2 separate regions of the Homo sapiens genome follow, and region 2 is linked to region 1. Evidence: promoter capture Hi-C in human tissues and cell types (Jung and others, 2019). All regions are on one chromosome and are shown on one strand. The core of a region is centred on a gene start or on the middle of the fragment in contact, and the rest is flanking DNA. Distances in the headings are between cores, read along the strand shown.

Region 1 (4,804 bases), core at 1,560-4,059:
ATTTTTGACACAGGGTCTCATTCTGTCACCCATGCTAGAATGCAGTGGCATGATCTGGGTTCAAGTGATCCTCCCACTTCAGCCTCCCAAGTAGCCAGGACTGCAGGCACACACCACCATGCCTGGCTAATTTTTTTTGTATTTTTTGTAGGGACGGGGTTTTGCCATGTTGCCCAGGCTGGTCTTGAACTCCCAGGCTCAAGCGACCGGCTCGCCTCAGCCTCCTAAAGTGTTGGGATTACAGGCATGAACCACCATGTCTGAAGGTTTTATGCTTTTTTTTTTTTTTAAACTCCCTTCTCTGTCCTTTTAGATGGAACAGAGACAAGCACATGTGATCAACCCACTATGTTTCACAGGTACACTCCTGAGTACATCTCCCAACAATCCTATGACATAAGCATTCCCATTTCACAAGAGAAAAACAGGCTCAGAGAAGCTAAGCTACTTGCCAAGGTCACCCAGTCAGCACATTATAGAGCTATGACATAATCTGAACCTCTCTTTTGAGGTCCACTATGGACATATTAGAGATAAGAAGATTATGGCCTAGAAAGGTTAGGCATTTATATCAAGATTAGAAGGCAAGAAAATGTCAGTACACAGATTTGAACACAGGGCTGTCTAACTTCAAAGCCTGTTCTCTCTAGTATAACTTACTACTACATCTTTTAAGGCCAACCCAACCCAGCTGCTCTACCAGGGCTCAAGAATATACTCTTGGGGAGTTCAAGAGCTGTCCTTGTGAATGTGTACATTTTGTGTTTTCATTTTTCCACATTTTTCTTAAAACCAGTAAACTAGGGTTAATCAGAATAAACCCTTTATAATCCAGCACTGCCCTAGGATTACAGGGGCTCCATATGTATTTCTGTCTATGATCATTATCACAGGCTCACGAAAACTGAATAGGCTGCCTTATCCTATAAGCATTACTTTTTTTTTTTTTTTGAGGCAGAGTCTTGCTCTTGTTGCCCAGGCTGGAGTGCAATGGCATGATCTCGGCTCACTGCAACCTCCACCTCCCGGGTTCAAGTGATTCTCCTGCCTCAGCCTCCTGAGTAGCTGGGATTACAGGCAGCCGCCACCACACCCGGCTAATTTTTGTGTTTTTAGTAGAGATGGGGTTTTGCCATGTCGACGAGGCTGGTCTCAAACTCTGACCTCGTGATCCGCCCGCCTTGGCCTCCCAAAGTGCTGGGATTACAGGCATGAGACACCATGCCTGGCCCCTATAAACAGTATTTAAACACCAAGTGAAACCAAATGAAGCCAGGGTCTAATGTGAGAACAAAGCCTTTGTAGTTATTTGAAAAGTGGCAGAAGAGCATCAGGTCATCCCACAGCAAGTGAATCTAATTTGCTTAAACTCAAAAGTGGGTGGGCCACTAACAGTCAAGACCTTCACGTTGTAACAATTCCATTTCAGTAAAACAGTGAAGAGCACATTCATGTTCACCTGAATGTTACTGGAATCGTAATTTTCTTTTAATTTACTTTGTTTTGGTCTTTAATGGTTGAGTAAGAGTTACAAGCCTAGGGGTTTACACCTAGTATCACGTGGATATACAGTGAAGTAACATAATGAAAATAATTTACAGCCTGGGCAACATGGTGAAACTCCATCTCTACAAAAAATACAAAAATTCGCTGGGTGCCATGGCTCATGCCTGTGGTTCCGGTTACTTGGGAGGATGAGGTGGGAGGATGGCTTGAGGCCAGGAGGTTGAGGCTGCAGTGAGCCGAGATCACGCCACTGTACTCCAGTCTGGGTGACAGAGCGAGACCCTCTCTCAAAAAAAATAATAATTTAGGCAAACATAAGGATCAGTGAGACTTTTGTGTTTTTGTTTTTGGTTTTTCCTCTACAGAGTCACTTTGAAAACTCAGGCTACCCTGAAGGCTGGCCAAAAGGATGACAACAATTATTTCCTTTGGTACTGTTAGAACAAAGTCAGTACAAGTGGGTCTAATCATCTGAGGCAACTTCTGTGTTTCTGCTTAGTCTAATGTTTCCCATCGCCACCACTCCCGTCTCAATCTTTTTGAATTGTGGGTTATTCCCAATCATGTCTTTTTTTCCTTCTATCTAAACCTTTGGGGGTGAAAAGTTGGCCCCTTTTACTGCGTCCATCCCGTAGCACTTGGCACAGGGAAGATGATGCTTATCTGTTGAGTTTGCTGAACTAAGGAACTAAAGTGAGTATTACCAACATTAAAGGTGAGAAAACTGAGGCTTAAAGAGATTTAATTTGCTCAAGATCGCTGGGATGAACATTTGAGCCGCTGGACAAGAGTCTGCATTTAGTCTCTAAGCTGGCTTCATTCTTAAGGATATCGCACCTCTCGAGGCTCAAATCGTTTGCTTAACTCATGGAATGTCTCTGTGGTCTTGGGAAAGGCCTCTTCCCGCTCTGGGTCTGAGTTTCCCCATCTGTGAAACGGGGGCGTGCCCCAGAGCGCCAAGGCCTCTTGCAGCTCTGAAACGGCTGAGAGGAGAAGCTGGAGGGAGTATGGGGCCTGGTCCTCTCCTAGGTTCTTACCATTTGATGATGTTGTGAACCAAAGGTAAAAAGGAGTAGTTCTCTTCCTCCCTCGCGCGGGCAGGTGACTGAGGCCGTGGCGCCGGCGACTGCTGCGGTTGAGGCGCAGGGACCGGCGGCGGCTGAGGAGGCGGCAGCGGCTTGGTGTCAGGCAGCGGCTGGTCGGACGTTGGCGGCAATACATCCTCCGCCTGTCGCCCGGCTGCCACCCCAGCAGAGGCCATGGCTCCGGGGGTAGGTTAGCCAGAGGTCGGGTCGCCAAAAGCGTCGCGCACTCTACACGTCACCACCGCGCGCCCTGCAGGGGCGGGGTGTGGAGGAAGGCTCTGAGCGTGCGCACTGGGCAGTCGGCGGGAAAAGGCGCGGAGGCGGGGGTGGGGAGGCTGTTGCTAGGCAACGGGCCGTGGGTGGGTCTGGGGTGCCTGGATTTGGATTGTGAGTCAAGATTGCTAAATTATTAAATAGTGAGAAATAGGGGTTTATTTCAGAAATAACAATCTTTTTTTTTTTTTTGAGACGGAATTTCGCTCTTGTTGCCCAGGCTGGAGTGCAGTGGCGCGATCTCGGCTCACCGCAACCTCCGCCTCCCGGGTTCAAGCGATTCTCCTGCCTCAGCCTCCCTAGTAGCTGGGATTACAGGCATGCACCACCACGCCCGGCTAATTTTATATTTTTAGTAGAGACGGGGTTTCTCCATGTTGATCAGGCTGGTCTCGAACTCCCCACCTCAGGTGATCCGCCCGTCTCGGCCTCCCAAAGTGCTGGGATTACAGGCGTGAGCCACTGCACCCGGCCAGAAATAACAATCTTCTTATTCCTATTCACACGATGAAGAGGGCCCCAAAGCCACAAACACAGGAAGCCTTGAGATTAGTAAGGTGCAGCCTGGCCCAGTGCACCCAAGTCTGGAGAGGAGCCACTGGACCTGTGGGAGGCGTAGACAGCACTTACCTGCTGGGTGAGGCACCAAACCCGGCCCAGCCCACAGTGCAAGACATCGAGACCTCGAGTTTAGCCCTAAGGACGCAGAGGCAAAGGGATTGCGGTCCCTTCAATGCTGCAAGGTTGCTTAGAAAGAGTCTAATAATTCAACTCAACACACATTTAGTATGCACCTGCTGGATGGCCACCTGTATGTGTGGTTGCAGGCAGGCTGTCCTTGCTTTCAGTACAAGGTAGAGGGGATTGGTGCCAGGAGTAAATATCATATCCTGGAAGAACGACAAGGTCAGGTACTCTCCATACCTTCGGGCCAGTTCCCCAAGCCCCTAGGTCCCAGTTTCCTCACCCCTAAAATCATATTTAGTTCAGATTCATGGCACAGCCTAAACTGCATTCTAACTTCACATGCGTGGCTGACCCCAAAAGGTCTTGTTGGCATGAGGACTCCCTAGGATCATAGGCCAAAGATGGGTTTATGGTTATGCTTCTCAAAACAAGTTTGATATGAGGGCTGTGTAGTAATTTTCCGGGCAATGGGGACACCCACCCCAAGCTTAGCTAGTGAGTAGAAGACATGAGTGGGGAAAGCTGTCAACTGGTGAGCCCATTCTGCTGTAATCCACCATCATGGGCAGTACAGAGAGGCGAGGAGGTCCACATCCACATAGCATGATGAACAGGAGCCTTAAGAGCAAGGTGGCCAGGGAAAGGATCAATGCTGATATTTTCAGGCACATTGGGAGGGCTGTGCGGAGGCAGATCCTTGGGGAGTAGGACCATAGATGGAAGTGCTGTTGGAGGGTGCGCTGTACAGGTTCTGTAGTAAAGGGCCTCAGCACAGCTCTCTGCAGCAAGAGCTGCCCACGGTGCCCCAGAGAGAGAGCAAAGGGAGGGAGTGGGTTGCGGAGTTTTCTTCCTTCTAACCATTGACCTCTCCAACTAAGGGAAAGTTCAAGAGTTCTGGTTGAGCATGGAGGAGAAAAAGGCCAGATGTGCTTGAAGAGACTGTATACCCTTGGAGTCATCTGGGGAAAGATGATATAGTAATAGTAATAATAATAGTAATTACCACAACTACCATGGAGTAAAAGTAGATACAGGGAACAGAGTTACAGTCACTGTCTCAATCCACAGACAGAGGTCTAGAAGATGGATGTCAGGATCCCCATTTTCTAGATGAGAAAACCAAGACTTACAATGGTTAAGATCCCAGCCTAAGGGTCAACGCAGTTGCTGATGCCAAGTCTATGATCTTAACCAACACTAAAGAGACTTCGGATCCCTACCAGTTCTGTAACTTTATGATTCAAAATGTTAAA
Region 2 (4,822 bases), core at 1,520-4,019, 390 kb after region 1:
TGTCAAAGGTGAGGGCTGGACTAGATGATGTCCCCAAAGACCCTCCTTCCCAGACCACCCCACACCTACCGTTCTCATGGCCCCTTCAGATACAGCTAGAACGGCCTCTGGGTCCGCTGCTGGGACCAGAATATATGGTCGTCCTCGGTGGGTCTCTTGCTGAAAACCCACTGGAAGTCAGGGCCAGGCAAGCATGTCCTCCATATCCAGGTGCAAGTCAAACCCCACCCCCTCCCCAACCGCCCCCGAGATCTTCAAACCTCAGCTGTCTTGGGGGATGAAGCCAAGAGGACTCCTGGCCCTGTGTTCCCCTGTGGCCGGCACGCTCCACAGGTATTGGCCACCTGACAGCGTTAGGGCCCATCACTTGGCAGAGGTGTAAATACCTGCTCCAGTTTATCCTGGCATAGCCGAGATCTTCAAACATTAACCAGGTAAGGCTCCAAAACCTTCAGGCTAGGGCGTGTCTGGGCCCCAGCTCACAGAATGGGAATGGAGCCAGAGTAGCTCCACCCACCAGGTCTCCAACCTGTGGCTCAACGCAAAACCCCCAGATCGCCCAGAAAAACCCTGATTTTGGGCAAGTTACTGCTCTCCTCATGCGACCATTTTCAGGATTAAATGCAAACACAGTGAGGACGCTAGCACTGTGGTTTGTGTGTGATTTCTTTTTACCTCTACACTGATCACAGACGCTTGCTGGTTCCAAAAACTGTACTCAGTGTCCAGAGGAAGTGAGCCTTGGACTTTTGCCCCAAGACAGCCACTGCACCCTGCAGACAGACGGCCAACACCACTGATGAACCCCAACACCACTGCTTCTCAGCTGGGCCCTGGGCATCACAAAGCATTCCCCAGCCACCAGGTGCAACCCTGGTGGGCTCAGAGGAAGACAATGACTCACTGCTTATTAGACTTTGTGGAGCAGCCCATCTACCACCCTTCCATCGAGGCAGAGGAACAGACAGAAGCCCAAAAGCAAGCATTAGCTACATGAGGACAGGGGACGGGTTGGGGCCGTAAGACCCTTCTGCCCCTGCGGGACAAGCCTGCCTTAGTGCGGCTGGTTGGAGGTAGGTCACAGCTGGGACTGCACAGTCCTTCAGAGCCTTGTGGCTCCAGGGAGTCTCTCTCCTCCTCCACCTGCTCTGTCCCTGTTCCTTCACCTTCGTGCCCCAAGGTCTTGGTCTGCAACACCATGCCTGTCTGCACCTCACACGTGAGAAACACAAAACCAGTCTCACCAACAAGACGACCCTGCTCAAGGACAAGGAGTCTTTTCCGTCTCCCCACCTCCCCCTGGGGTTGAATCAGTGAACAGGAGGCCAGGCGTCGTGTCTGCTGCGCTCTACACATTGAGGGGCTCAGCTTCCACGCTGACTTGAGTCAGGGAAACCTTCAAAGCTCTGCAGTGCCAGGCTCCACACTGCCCCAACCGGAGCAAAAGCCACTTCTCCATCGCCCCCAACTGAGGACGGGGCTGGCTCTTCCAGGTCCTTTCCAGCAATGACATTCCCTGATCCTGCTTCACACTGAAAACACAAATGCTCTGGAAGTGGGGTGATGCTGATACCTAGGTGGTGACTATGTCATCCATCAGGGCAGTCTCTGGTGGCCCCATCTTCCTTTCCCCGTTTCTCACGCCTACACCTCACACCTAGCAGCACCCCCACAAGTCCTACTTAGCCCTGCTGAACTCCCCAGAGCTCAACACCGGAGCATCTGTAATCCCAGATACTCGAAAGGCTCAGGTAGGAAGATCACTTGGGCCCAGGAGCTCAAGGCTGCAGTGAGCTATGACTGCGCCACTGCACTCCAGGATAGGTGACAAAAAAAAACCCAATCTCTAAAAAATAAAAAATGAAAGAAAAAGTCATCCAGATTCTGATCTAAGAGGGAGGCAGAGGAAAATGTGACAAAGAGGATAAGGAAATGTGATGACAGGAGCAAGAGACTGTAGTGGTGACAGGAAGAGGCCACGAGCCAAGGAAGGCAGGTGGCCACTGGAGCCTGCAAACAGTGGAGAGGGGATTCTCCCCCGGGACCTCAGAAGGAAGCTGCCCTGCTCACATCTGGACCTTAGCTAAGTGGTACTCATTTTGGACTCTCAACCTCCAGAGCCATCAGAGAACAAAGATGTGTTGTTTTAAGCCACTAAGTTTGTGGCAACTTGTTACAGTGGCCACAGGAAACAAACACACCTGCCATGTTGTGTGCTGTGACTGGCACCTCCCACAAAGGAAGCCACCCTGGAGTTCGATTCTGACACACTGAGGGCAGGTGTTTGCAAGTGACTGGTCCGTGCCTGTGTGTGGGCTGGACCAGCCCTCAGGCCAGTACATGGCATAAGGTGAAGGACACCTCCTTCCTAAGGTCCCTGTGCTGCTGACCTGCATCTCTGAGATCCCACCAGTGCAACTGCTCCCCGGGTTCAGAGAGTTTTCCCCACCATAAAGAACATTTCCTTCCCGGCCAAAGAAAAGATTTTTCTGAAAAACAGTCTTGCAGAGGCCAGGAGAGGCTAAGACACTAACATACTACATTGCCTGCCAGAAGTGGTGCCCTACGTGGATCAGCTCATCAGACTGTTTTTGGACATGATATATTTTCCAGGAATGCCCCAGGCAAAAGACATGGCCAGGCAGGTGGGGATCTCAGCAGGGGGCAGAGCAAGGGAAGCCTAAAAGGTGAGAGTGGAAGGGATGTGCCCCTGGGGGACTTTGCAGTCTGGCTCCATGCTGCCAGCCCTGTTTGTGCAAGTGTGTGAGCACTGCACAAACACGTGAAGACACTAGCACCAGCCATGTGGCTTTGCTTTTTCAACCCTAAATATTTTCTGTTGCACCTCCCATGAAATGACTTTTTTTGACACTTCTTTCCCCGCTCTTACTTAATTAGTTTCCTAACCAACTATTCCAAGCTTTTCACTTTCTTAATATCTAAAGTCATTTCTCTCTGTGTGGGAGGGAGACGCCCAGTACGTTATCACGAGCCTTCACGCTGCAGGGTACCGTCACAGCTGCTGCAGAGAAGTCCACCCACAGCTCTGAAGATAGACCAGCAAGGGTGCCAATCACAGCCCATCTTCCTGGCTGCCTCCCCAGTGCGGGGTGTGGGCCACAGAAACCCCTTTACCCTCACGACAGCTCTCGCCGCTCCCATCACCTTCCATCACTGAAAGAGCTGTGCACATGGCAAAAGTCTGAACAGAGAGCACCTAAGTGGATAACCAGGTGGAACCCCTCTTCAGCCCCTTGATAATCAATTGTGGGTGGCCAGCAGTCACTCCACTCAGGCAACACAGGGAAGGCAGAGAGAGAATGTGGGTATCTCATTATAGCCCTGAACACAGGCTGGCAGCTAATTCCCATTTTGTGTCCTTGACTCACCACTTATGTAACAGGAAGGTAAGCGCACGGGACAGTCCTGATGAGACAGAAAGGCACTCACTGGGCACCTGAGGTCACCAAATCCTCTCAGTGCGGCCTGAGATTCAAAGAAGGGGGACTTTTGGGAGTGGCCTACCTGAAATCTTTACATCAGAAACTCAAGCAAGAAAGAGCTGGGGAGGACAGCTGCCTGATTCGCCAGCCAACCAACATGTGCCCTGTCTACGCAGGCAGACACCAGTGCTGCCTAGAGGCGCTCACCGTCCTGTAGAGGGAGATCCTCGTGGAAGTTAAGGGCAAGGTGCTCCGCATGCTCTGACAGGTGTCCTCGGGTTAGGAACACAGGGAGGACTCGCGTCTGGCCAGGGCCAACCTGTGTCTTCTCTTGGCTCTCCAGAATGACCCAGGGTGACCTGCAGAGCCCTCTCAGTACCTGCAGAGGTCCCTTCCTCTGATCCTCTTTGCCTGCTCACTCTGGCACGTTCTGCTCCAACTTCTTCCCTCTACAGGGCTCAGCCATCCACGTATGACTCCAACACTGGAGGTACAGAACATCTAATACTGGAGGCACAGAACATTCAAACTGCCCCACACACTTCCCTCTCCCTCTTTCCTTCCCTGAAGGGCAACTCCCAGGCTCTAAGTCGGGACAGGAGATCCAGGGACCCGGCTGCTTGTCCACATCTGTGGTTCAGTCACTCCCTCCCCCTCCCCCTAGCTAAGCTTCCTCACTACAAAATGGAAGGTCTGGATCAGGTCACAGTGGGAACCCCCAACTGTCACCCTCAGGAGTTGGCTGTTTTTGGTCCACACAGTCCCATGATTAACCTTTGCTGGCTTCCATTCCCTGATTCTTTCAGTGTGGGAAATGTCACTTGGGCCTCTGGGCAGAGGTGCAAACAACAAGAAAGCTCCCAAAGGCAGAACCTGCCCCTGCCTAACAGTTCCGGGTCCAAGAGACTTATAAGACTGGGTCCCAAGCCCTTCCCGGACCTGTCATTAGCTCTTCTCCCCCAACCTCCCAACTATGACAAAAGGAAGGGAGGGGGCTTAAAGCTCAGCCTCCAGTTTCCAGAGAACATCCATCTTGAAGCTCCCACGGAGGTACAGAGAATGCTCCGACCTCTACGTGCTCCACTCAAATGGGTGAACTTTCATGAGTCACCGTAAATTACACTTCAGGGAAAAAAAGTGGGTGTCACTTGTCAGCAAACAGCTCTGAGCTTCCCTTATGACCCCTACCCTCTACTTTCACAGCACTTAGGAAGCGTTTCCATCCTACCTGGGTTCACCTGCACCCAGACCTGGCTCACTCACCTTTAGTGTTTCAAAATAACTTAAATCTGGCCACAGATGCTCTAAGGCAAAGTGGCCTACAGGAAGCTCAGTCGAGCAGGGCCCTCCCTGCCCCACTTATTATCCCACCAACTCCC

Evidence for each region. Contacts are between HindIII fragments. The study calls those that stand out against the background at their distance.
Region 2: a contact is called between a fragment that was not itself captured here and the fragment with the promoter of MED9 in region 1, in 1 of the 25 tissues and cell types used here (dorsolateral prefrontal cortex).

What each region holds. Positions count from the first base shown.
Region 1 is chr17:17,475,005-17,479,808 of GRCh38, reverse strand. It overlaps MED9 (mediator complex subunit 9), which reads right to left and starts at 2,809. Exons shown (of 2, transcript NM_018019.3): 1 at 2,544-2,809. The coding sequence starts at 2,767. RefSeq lists an enhancer at 2,706-2,805. The HindIII fragment of the contact is 13,264 bases long and covers 1-4,804 here.
Region 2 is chr17:17,086,511-17,091,332 of GRCh38, reverse strand. The region is part of intron 3 of MPRIP (myosin phosphatase Rho interacting protein); the gene reads right to left. Among named protein-coding and RNA genes, the nearest start is that of MPRIP, 46 kb to the right of the region's middle. RefSeq lists an enhancer at 3,063-3,564. The HindIII fragment of the contact is 4,974 bases long and covers 283-4,822 here.